Regions from separate parts of the Homo sapiens genome. Here region 1 is linked to region 2. The links are contacts of gene promoters, found by promoter capture Hi-C in human tissues and cell types (Jung and others, 2019). All regions are on one chromosome and are shown on one strand. Each heading gives the region's core, a stretch centred on a gene start or on the middle of the fragment in contact. The rest is flanking DNA. Distances are from core to core; before and after follow the strand shown.

What was found. Contacts are between HindIII fragments. The study calls those that stand out against the background at their distance.
Region 1: a fragment that was not itself captured here is called in contact with the fragment with the promoter of SNAP91 in region 2 in 2 of the 25 tissues and cell types used here (H1 embryonic stem cells and thymus).

Annotation. Positions count from the first base shown.
Region 1 is chr6:83,962,295-83,967,098 of GRCh38, forward strand. RIPPLY2-CYB5R4 (RIPPLY2-CYB5R4 readthrough) reads left to right here. Exons shown (of 18, transcript NR_174604.1): 18 at 1-4,804. It overlaps CYB5R4 (cytochrome b5 reductase 4), which reads left to right. Exons shown (of 16, transcript NM_016230.4): 16 at 1-4,804. Among named protein-coding and RNA genes, the nearest start is that of LINC02857, 56 kb to the right of the region's middle. The HindIII fragment of the contact is 3,037 bases long and covers 1-3,010 here.
Region 2 is chr6:83,706,487-83,711,368 of GRCh38, forward strand. It overlaps SNAP91 (synaptosome associated protein 91), which reads right to left and starts at 2,615. Exons shown (of 30, transcript NM_001242792.2): 1 at 2,359-2,615; 2 at 1,312-1,471. The coding sequence starts at 1,441. LOC105377879 (a long non-coding RNA gene) reads left to right here and starts at 2,956. Exons shown (of 3, transcript NR_136251.1): 1 at 2,956-3,233. RefSeq lists silencers at 1,584-1,878, 2,288-2,497, 2,828-2,887. The HindIII fragment of the contact is 7,193 bases long and covers 1-4,882 here.

The DNA of each region.
Region 1 (4,804 bases), core at 242-2,741, 250 kb after region 2:
AGAAGGACTTGGAGGAAAAAATCCCCTAAGTAGAGCCTCAGTCTTCCAATGAATGCAACCAAATACTGAGGAGCACAGATAGGAGTATAGTTTATCACTGTTATTCTCAAGCAAATAACTCAAAGACTCCTACATCACATATTTGCAGTGAAGAAGAATTACGCTCAAAGTCACATTTGCTTGCAAATTCTGCTTTTTTTAAAAAAAAGTTTATTAATTTTCTATTGCTGCTAGATCAAATTACTACAAACTTAGTAGCTTAAAACAACACCCATTTATTATCTCACAGTTCCATGGCACAGAAATCTAGGCACAATATGGCTCAACTGGGTCCTCTGCTTAAAGCCTCACAAGGCTGTAATCAGATTGTCAGCTGAGCTGGGCTCTTAGCTAGAGGCTGTAAGGGGAAGTCCCTAGATAAGAGTTCTTTCAGCCTCATTAGGTAGATTTCAGTTCCTTGCAGTTGTAGGACTGAGTTCCCCATTTCCTTGCTAGCTGTTAGCTGTGGGCTAGTCTTTGTTTCTAGAATTTGCCCACATTCCTTCTCATACTTTCTGTGTGGCCCTCTTCAGCATTAGTGGATGAATCTCATGCTTTCAGTCTCTCTGAATTCCCTTGTGGGCTTCTTCAGCATTGGTAGATGAATCTTATGCTTTCAATCTCTCTGAATTCCCTTTCTGCCATATCTTTCTTGCCCTAGCAAGAGTTCACTGCTTTTAAGATCTCATGTGGTTAGATTGGACCTATCCAGATATCCAGGGTAATCTTCCTATTTTAAAAATCTATAATTTTAATTATAGCTGTAAAGTCCCTTTTCCTATATAATATATTCAAAGGTTGCAGGCATTTGGGTGTTGACATCTTTGATGGGCACATTGTGTCTACCACAGGCTATAGAAAGAACAGAGAAATTTGTCCAAGATAAGATGATTAGGTTTTGTCTAGATAGGGGCCCTTGCTATGGGCCCTCAGTTTTTACCTTAATGTAACAGAACATGAGAGGAGCTTTGACACCCACCCCAAAAGAGTCAACTTCATTATGCTGGCAAAGGCATGGGTACAACCTGCTCTGTGATCTACCTTCTGAACCACACAAGCTTGTCCTGAACGAGGTTGGGGCTGAGTCTGTTGATAACAGACCCCCATTTTTGGGCAGAAAAAACAGATTCTGTATGATCTACAGTATTTAACATTGTGGCAAATAAATTATAAAGGAAAAATGGAATCTCAAGTAGTTACAGTCTCTTGGTGTCTTTCAACATTGGTTTTATTTTGAAGTCATTTTCACCCAGCATTGCAAGTTTAGCAGACCTCAAAACAGAATGCCAAAGTGATCTTAAAATTCAAAAATGAGTTTACTTTCTTTGTTAAAGTTCTCTTTTGATGCATATCCCCCATTCATGGAATGGAAGCATTATCTTGGGTGCAGCATTACACGTAGAGTTAAAATGTGGAAACAACCCAAACATCCTGATATGGTTTGGCTCTGTGTCACCACCCAAATCTCATCTTGAATTGTACTCTCATAATTCCCATGTGTTGTGGGAGGAACCCAGTGGGAGATAATTTGAATCATGGGGGCAGTTTCCCTCATACTGTTCTCATGGTAGTGAATAACTCTCACAAGACCTGGTGGTTTTATCAGGGGTTTCCGCTTTTGCATCTTACTCATTTTCTCTTGCGGCCGCCATGTAAGAAGTGCCTTTCACCTCCTGCCATGATTCTGAGGCCTCCCCAGCCATGTGGAACTGTAAGTCCAATTAAACCCCTTTTTTTCCCCAGTCTCAGGTACGTCTTTTATCAGCAGCGTGAAAATGGACTAATACAGTAAATTGGTACCAGTAGAGCAGGTGTTGCTGCAAAGATACCGGGAAATGTGGAAGCAACTTTGGAACTTGGTAACAGGCAGAGATTGGAACAGTTTGGAGGGCTCAGAAGAAGACAGGAAAATGGGAAAGTTTGGAACTTCCTTGAGACTTGTTGAATGGCTTTGACAAAAATACTGATAATGATATGGACAATGAAATCTAGACTGAGGTGGTCTCAGGTGGAGATGAGGAACCTGTTGAGAACTGGAGCAAAGGTGACTCTTGTTATGATTTAGCAAAGAGACTGGCGGCATTTTGCCCCTGCCCTGGAGATTTGTGGAACTCTGAACTTGAGAGAGATGATTAAGGGTATCTGGTGGAAGAAATTTCTAAGCAGCAAAGCATTCAAGAGGTGACTCAAGTGTTGTTAAAGGCATTCAGTTTTAAAAGGGAAGCAGAGCATTAAAATTCAGAAAATTAGCAGCTTGACAATGCGATAGAAAAGAAAATCCTATTTTCTGAGGAGAAATTCAAGCTGGCTGTAGATATTTGCATAAGTAACAAGGAACTGAATGTTAATTTCCAAGACAATGGGGAAAATGTCTCCAGGGCATGTCAGAGACATTTGTGGCAGCCTCTTCTATCACAGACCTGGAGGTCTAGGAAGAAAAAATGGTAAAAATGGTTTTGTGGGCAAGGCCTAGGGTCCTTGTGCTGTGTGCAGTCTAAGGACTTGGTGCCCTGTTTCCTAGCCACTCCGGCCATGGCTGAAAGGGGCCAACATGAAGCTCAGGCCATGGCTTCAGAGGGTGAAAGCCTTAAGCCTTGGCAACTTCCATGTGATGTTGAGCATGTGGGTGCACAGAAGTCAAGAAATGGGGTTTGGGAACCTCTGTCTAGATTTCAGAAGATGTATGGAAATGCCTGGATGCCCAGGCAGAAGTTTGCTGCAGGGGCGGGGCTCTCATGGAGAACCTCGGCTAGGGCAGTGCAGAAGGGAAATGTGGGGTTGGAGCCCCCTCACAGAGTCCCTACTGGGACACCGCCTAGTGGAGCTGTGAGAAGAGGACCACTGTCCTCCAGACCCCAGAATGGTAGATCGACTTACAGCTTGTACCAGGTGCCTGGAAAAGCTGCAGATACTCAACACCAGCCCATGAAAGCAGCCAGGATGGAGGCTGTACCCTGAAAGCCACAGGGCCAGAGCTGCCCAAGACCATGGGAAGCCACCTCTTGCATCAGCGTGACCTGGATGTGAGACCTGGAGTAAAAGGAGATCATTTTGGAGCTTTAAAATTTGACTGCCCCACTGGATTTTGGACTTCCATGGGCCCTGTAACCCCTTTGTTTTGGCCAATTTCTCCCATTTGGAATGGCTGTATTTACCCAATACCTGTACCCTCATTGTATCTAGGAAGTAACTAGCTTGCTTTTGATTTTACAGGCTCATAAGTGGAAGGGACTTGCCTTGTCTCAGATGAGACTTTTGAACTGTGGACTTTTGGGTTAATGCTGAAATGATTTAAGACTTTGGGGTACTGTTGGGAATGCATGATTGGTTTTGAAATGTGAGGACATAAGATTTGGAGGAGCCAGGGGTGGGATGATATGGTTTGGCTCTGTGTCCCCACCCAAATTTCATCTTGAATTATACTCCCATAATTCCCATGTGTTATACGTGGGACCTGGTGGGAGATAATTTGAATCATGGGGGTGGTTTCCCCCATACTGTTCTCATGGTAGAGAATAAGTCTCATGAGATCTGATGGTTTCATCAGGGGGTTCCGCTTTTGCATCTTACTCATTTCTCTTGCTGCCACCCTGTAAGAAGTATTTTTAACCTACCGCCATGATTCTGAGGCCTCCCCAGCCATGTGGAACTATAAGTCCAATTAAACCTCTTTTTCTTGGCTTAATTTCTTGGGTATGTCTTTATCAGCAGTGATTCTATTCCTATGAAATGTCTAGAACAGGAAAATCTATGAGACATAAAGTAATTAAGTGGCTGTTCAGGGGATACAGGAATAGGGGATAATAACTAAAGGGTTGGGAGGGTGTTTTTGAAATGCTAAAATATTCTGAAGTTTACTGTGGTTATGGTTGCACATACTTATGAATATACCTAAAAATGTTGAATTGTACATTTTAAGTAGATGAATTGTATCTAATTTGAACCATATCTCAGTAAAGATATAAAAATGTTTTTGGGTACTAAGACTAAACTAGAAAGAACATAAGAGGAAATACATATTATATAAGAAGAAAAGAGTAAAAATAAATCTTTAAAAAAATAAAAATAAAAAGGAGGCCTGTGTGCGGTGGCTCATGCCTGTAATCCCAGCACTTTGGGAGGCCGAGGCGGGTGGATCACCTGAGGTCGGGAGTTTGAGACCAGCCTGACCAACATGGAGAAACCCTCTCTCTACTAAAAATACAAAATTAGCCAGGTGTGGTAGCATAGGCCTGTAATCCCTGCTACTTGGGAGGCTGAGGCAGGATAATTGCCTGAACCCGGGAGGCGGAGGTTGCGGTGAGCCGAGATTGCACCTTTGCACTCCAGCCTGGGCAACAAGAGTGAAACTCCATCTCAAAAAATAAAACAAATAAAAAGGATTCTAGAGGAAGTGGTAAATAGTGAAGATAGGCAAAGAATATCCAACATATGAATAATAGTAGTCCTTGAAGACAAAAATCAAAGGAAAAGAATACTAAAAACTCTACTTAATGAAAAATCATCCTGAAATTAACAAGAAAAATTGAAATTAATGTTGAAAGAGCACCAGAGAGTATACATCCAAAAAGACCAACATTAATATAAATTTTAGTAAAATTACTGAACCATGAAAAGTAAATGCCTTTAGTTATCTAAACAAAAACTAATTACTTAAAAGGGAAAGAAAATTAGATCATCACCAGACTTTTCAACAGCATTGCCTTATGCTTTAAGAAAGTGTTGTACCACATTTGATATCCTGATGGAAAAAAATGTGAGCCAA
Region 2 (4,882 bases), core at 1,365-3,864:
GGCATAATGGTACTTTCCCCTCCGATGAGCTTCTAGAAACAAAATTATTCAATTCTATGAGACAACAGGTTCACAAGGCTGGACAACTCTTACAATGTCCAGTTGTAAGCTTCATCAAGCTTCGCTTATGCAGATAATAGGGCTAGAGTGAATTCTGACACTGGTGCCATTTTCTTAGCTGCACAAAGGAAATAGCAGGAAAAAGACCCAAGACCAAAAAAACCCAGAAGATGGGCAAAGGAAGCCAGCTGAGGAAATGGCTGTGGCCATACCTGTGTCTCTCATGCCAACATTCACCTTTACCAAAAACATCACAATAGAACAGAAGATCCTAAGCAGGTCAAGAGAACTAAATAGCAACTGCTGAACATACACTCATATAGCCTGACTTATGAGAAACCTCACCACCCAAAGCAGGTGAAAGCCTTTTTCTTTTCTAAGTGCCTCTGTTTATCCTTCGGTGACAAAAGATTTACTGTTAATTAAGGTATTTCAGAAATATATAGATTCCAGAGTAGAATAAAGCCTTTTCCATCAAATAACCAGTTACAAAAATAATATTAAGAATTAAACGGTTTCATCTAAAATTGCACCATCTCAGATGCTGGGGAAGTACATCCATTTTGTGACCATAGCATAGTCATCTCACCCAGCATTTTCTGAGAATGGGACAAAGTGTGCCAGGATGTGTAAAATGAAATTGCCATAGCTATGAAGTCCAATTTCCTCATTCAGTACCTTGAATTTATTTCAGTTTGGTATGGTAACATACCTCACACACACACACACACACCCATACTCACAAAAACAATCCTCAGGAGCAACACTTAAAAAGATTATACTACCTTAGAACTATCTGAAATGTATTTAGGAAAGAACTAGGGTGACAAGTTTGACCTTCCATAAATTCATCTTTTTTTTTTTTGACTGTGCAACCTCTAATTTCCTCTAATTTGGAGAAGGGAGGGTGGGTGGAGAAAGAAAAAAAGGTGAAAAACATCTAATTCAGTGTGTACAATCTCTCTCTTGTGTGTGTGTATATACATATGCGTGTGTGTGTGTGTGTGTGTGTGTATTTTTCCCCCTCCACCAAGACCTTGGAGGTCAATAAGAGGAAAAAATGGCTCACAAGACAAGGTTTCATGGCTAACCCAAGGGAACACCTTCACAGCTGAAGAATTTCAGCTCAGGGGCAACCTGGCTGGGAGTATCAGAGGCCACAGCATTATGGACCAAGAGCGCAGGCCGCACCACCAGCATCCCAGGCGCCTCTGCCGTGCGCATGTCCCTCTTATATAAAGAGATGCTTACAGTCCAGGTGCTTTTTCTTGGGGCCCATTACTTCATGAGTAGTGGCTTTGCAGACCGCTCTTGCTACAGCAGAGCCTGTAACGCTGTACTGAGCGGCGGCGATCCGATCCGTGAGCGTTTGGCCCGACATCTTCTGTGGTCGCGTCTACCGCCTCCTCTTCTGCAGGAAACAAGGGGAGACGGTCCGGCTTTAATCCGCAGACCCTACCCTCCAAGCACCCAGGCCTTGCCTCCTCCAGCCGCGCGGCGGCTCTCTCCTCCTCCATCCCCACCCTGGCACCACCTCTCGGAGCCAGCAACGCGCCAAGCCCCGCTCCTGCGATGCGGTCCAGGGAGTCTTGGCCGTGAGTAGGGCCGTCACGGAACCCCAGCGTGGGCTCCAGTCGCAGCATCGTGACACCGTCCCCATTCTCCCCCGGCCCCCACATAGGGCCAGACTCACCCCCTGGGGACCCCCCTGTCAATCAGCACTTTCCCCGCAACCTGACCCGCGGGTGCTGGACTAGCCACAACGTGCGTTGGGGTTATTCCCTGGGCGCCGCACCCACCGGTGCCCATCTCCCACCTCAGCAGACTTTCCTCCTAGCAGCCCGCAGGCTTCGGGGAATGCATCGGATACCCAAGCCCTGGCTGCCTCCCTCCTCCTCCTCGCGCTGCTGCAGCAAAGGGCTCGTCCTCCCTCAGTCGCGAAGGAGATTATCCTAGCGTTGCGCCATGTTATGCCCTCGCCTCCCCTTCCTTCCTCGCCGCCGGCTCCAAAGCCTCGCCGAGGCCCATCGCCCGGGCCCCTTCCCCCCGGTTCCAAATCCCTGCCGCAGGGGCCGCCCGGGAGCTCTGCGGAGGCGCCGGAGTCTTGGGGCGCCTCACCCTTCCTGGCTTTGGAGAGGAGCCGGGCTGACAGCGAAGCCCAGTCCCCCGCCCGCCCTGGAGCGCTCCGCGGAGCTGTCACTCGGCCGCTGCCCTTCTCCGCACCCTGGGATTATCCTCTGCGGATCCCCGCGAGACCCTGGCGCGGGGAGGGGGCCGAGTACGGCCGCGGGTACTCACCCCGCCCCTGAGCGGCGCCGCCCGCCGCAGGATGAGCGGAGCCCGGGCCGCCGAGGGAAGCCGCGCCGGTGGATGTGTGCGACCGCGCGTAGCCCCGGTGCCCCCGGGCGCAAAGTCTCCAGCCCTGGCCGGGCCCCGCTCCTCAGCTCCGCGGTCCCGGCGCCCACCGCCCCTGGCCCCTGGCCCCAGAAGCCAGTACCCGCCCGCCGCCGCCTCTTCTGCCAGCGCCGCCGCGTCTCTCTAGCGCTCCGAGCTGCGTCCCCATCCCCGCCCCCACCTCAGCTGTGGCTCCTCCGACGAGTCAGGTGACGGCGGCGGACAAACCCGGACGAGCCCTCGGCGGAGCGCCTCGCGGCCCCCTCCCAGCTACTCACACACACCGCCCCCCGGGGCCGGGAGCTTAAAGGCGAGGGGGCGCCTCGCGCAAGCATCCCCGGCAAGCCGGCGGGGAGAAGAAGGAGGCGGGGAGGCCGACACCCACCCAGCCAGCGGCTCTCCGCTGGGCGCCGGGCCGCCCCTCCGCTGCTGGCGCCGCACCCGGCACGCACTGGGCTCGCGCACCACGCACACCTGCCCGCCGACTGCGGGGGGAGCCCTGGGCGTTGGGGGCGTTGGCCAAGACGGGCGAGTGGGCTTCTCGGGTTCTACTCTGTGAAGGCCAAGGCAAGGGCGTCGTCGCGCGCTGCCTGGCGGAGCCCAGCCCCTTCCCCACACTGTCGCTGACACGCCCGCCTGTCAAAGGCTCCGAGGCCCAGATGAGCAGGGCGATTTTAAATGTCAGATCCTGCCGGCCATCCGCGACCGTCACCTGTGCGTCTTCAGCTCCTCAGGCTCCTCCGCTTGTCTCAGTTACAACTGGGAGCCCGGGTGGGCAGGTAATTCTAGCCACTTTAGTCTTAAACGGATACTGAGGTCTGCTGAAGGGAGAATAATTAACACAGCCGTTAATCGAGTCCCAGATTACCTTCGACAGTAATCATTTGCGTGCATAAAGAAAACCCTTTGTACCCTTAAGAAGTAATTTCTGCCAATTAAATATAGTGTTGGAACGTCCGTCAATTGTATGTCAAGTGTATATTCGAATAGTAAGCAGGAATTTCTAAACAGGGATGTGGAGTTGGTTAATAGCTTCACGTGTTGACATTTTCAAAGGTTGTTATTTATGTTCACCTTTTTTTTTAATTCTCACAGTAGCATGAAGATCAAAACTATATTTGTGAGCTTTCCTGGCATTTTTTCTCCTTGCTTCGGGTGGCTTCTGCTCGGCCTTGAAGCCATATATCGATACCTATCGATCTCAACGTTTTGTTATATATTCCTCTCTTTCACCTGGTACAGTGTTCAGTATGCAGTCATGATTTCCTAACTACTGAGACTGATTCTAGGACTAATTGGAAGCTTAATGACTAAAGAGAGACAGCTTAAGAGCACTATTGTCTCAAGTACTAGTCTTACCATATTTACAAGGGAAATAAAAACGCAATTCTATTAAAAAAACTTGTACTCCAGTTTTATAGCAGCTTAATATAATGGCCCCAAACTGGAGGAAAGCCAAATGTTATTCTACTAGTAAATGAATAAACAAAATATGGTATATCCACATAATGGAATACTACTTAGCAATAACAAGAAACAAACTAATACCATTCATGAATCTCAAATTCATTAGACGAAGGGAAAGAAGCTCTATCAAAAATTCTACTTATTATTTTGATTTCATTTATGTAACATTCTGGAAAAGTCAAAACTATAGAAACAGAAAACACATCAGGTGCCGAGTCAGGTGACGGTGGCATTGGGGGAGGGGACTGCAAAGGGGCAGAAGGAAACTTTTTGGAGAGATGGAAATGTTTTATATCGTGACGGTGATGATGATTATACAGCTGCATGTATTTCTCAAAACTCATCAATTTGTACACTTAAAATTGGCGAATTTTGTTGTTTGTTAATTATACCTCAATATAATCTGATAGAGTTGGGAGTGGCAATATTAATATCAAAGTAGGTTTTACAATAAGGAATATTAATAGCAATAAACAGGCACATTTCATAATGAAAAATTCATTAAGAGCATGGAACAATTCTACTTGTTTGTATATCTAAGAACAGAGCTTCAAAGTAGGACGAAGCAAAACCTAATAGCATTAAAAGGAGAAACAGGCAAATCCACAATTATACTTCAGGATTTCAGCACTTTTCTCTATGTAATAAATAGGACAAGTAGACAGGAAACCTGTAAGGGTATAGATGACTTGAAATAGCCCTGTAGGCCGGACGCGGTTGGCTCATGCTTGTAATCCCAGCACTTTGGGAGGCCGAGCCAGGCAGATCATGAGGTTAGGAGATCAAGACCATCCTGGCTAACACGGTGAAACCCCGTCTCTACTAAAAATACAAAAAAAAAAAAAAATTAGCTGGGCGTGGTGGTGGGTGCCTGTAGCCCCAGCTACTCAGGAGGCTGAGGCAGGAGAATGGCGTGAACCCGGGAGGCGGAGCTTGCAGTGAGCGGACATCGCGCCACTGC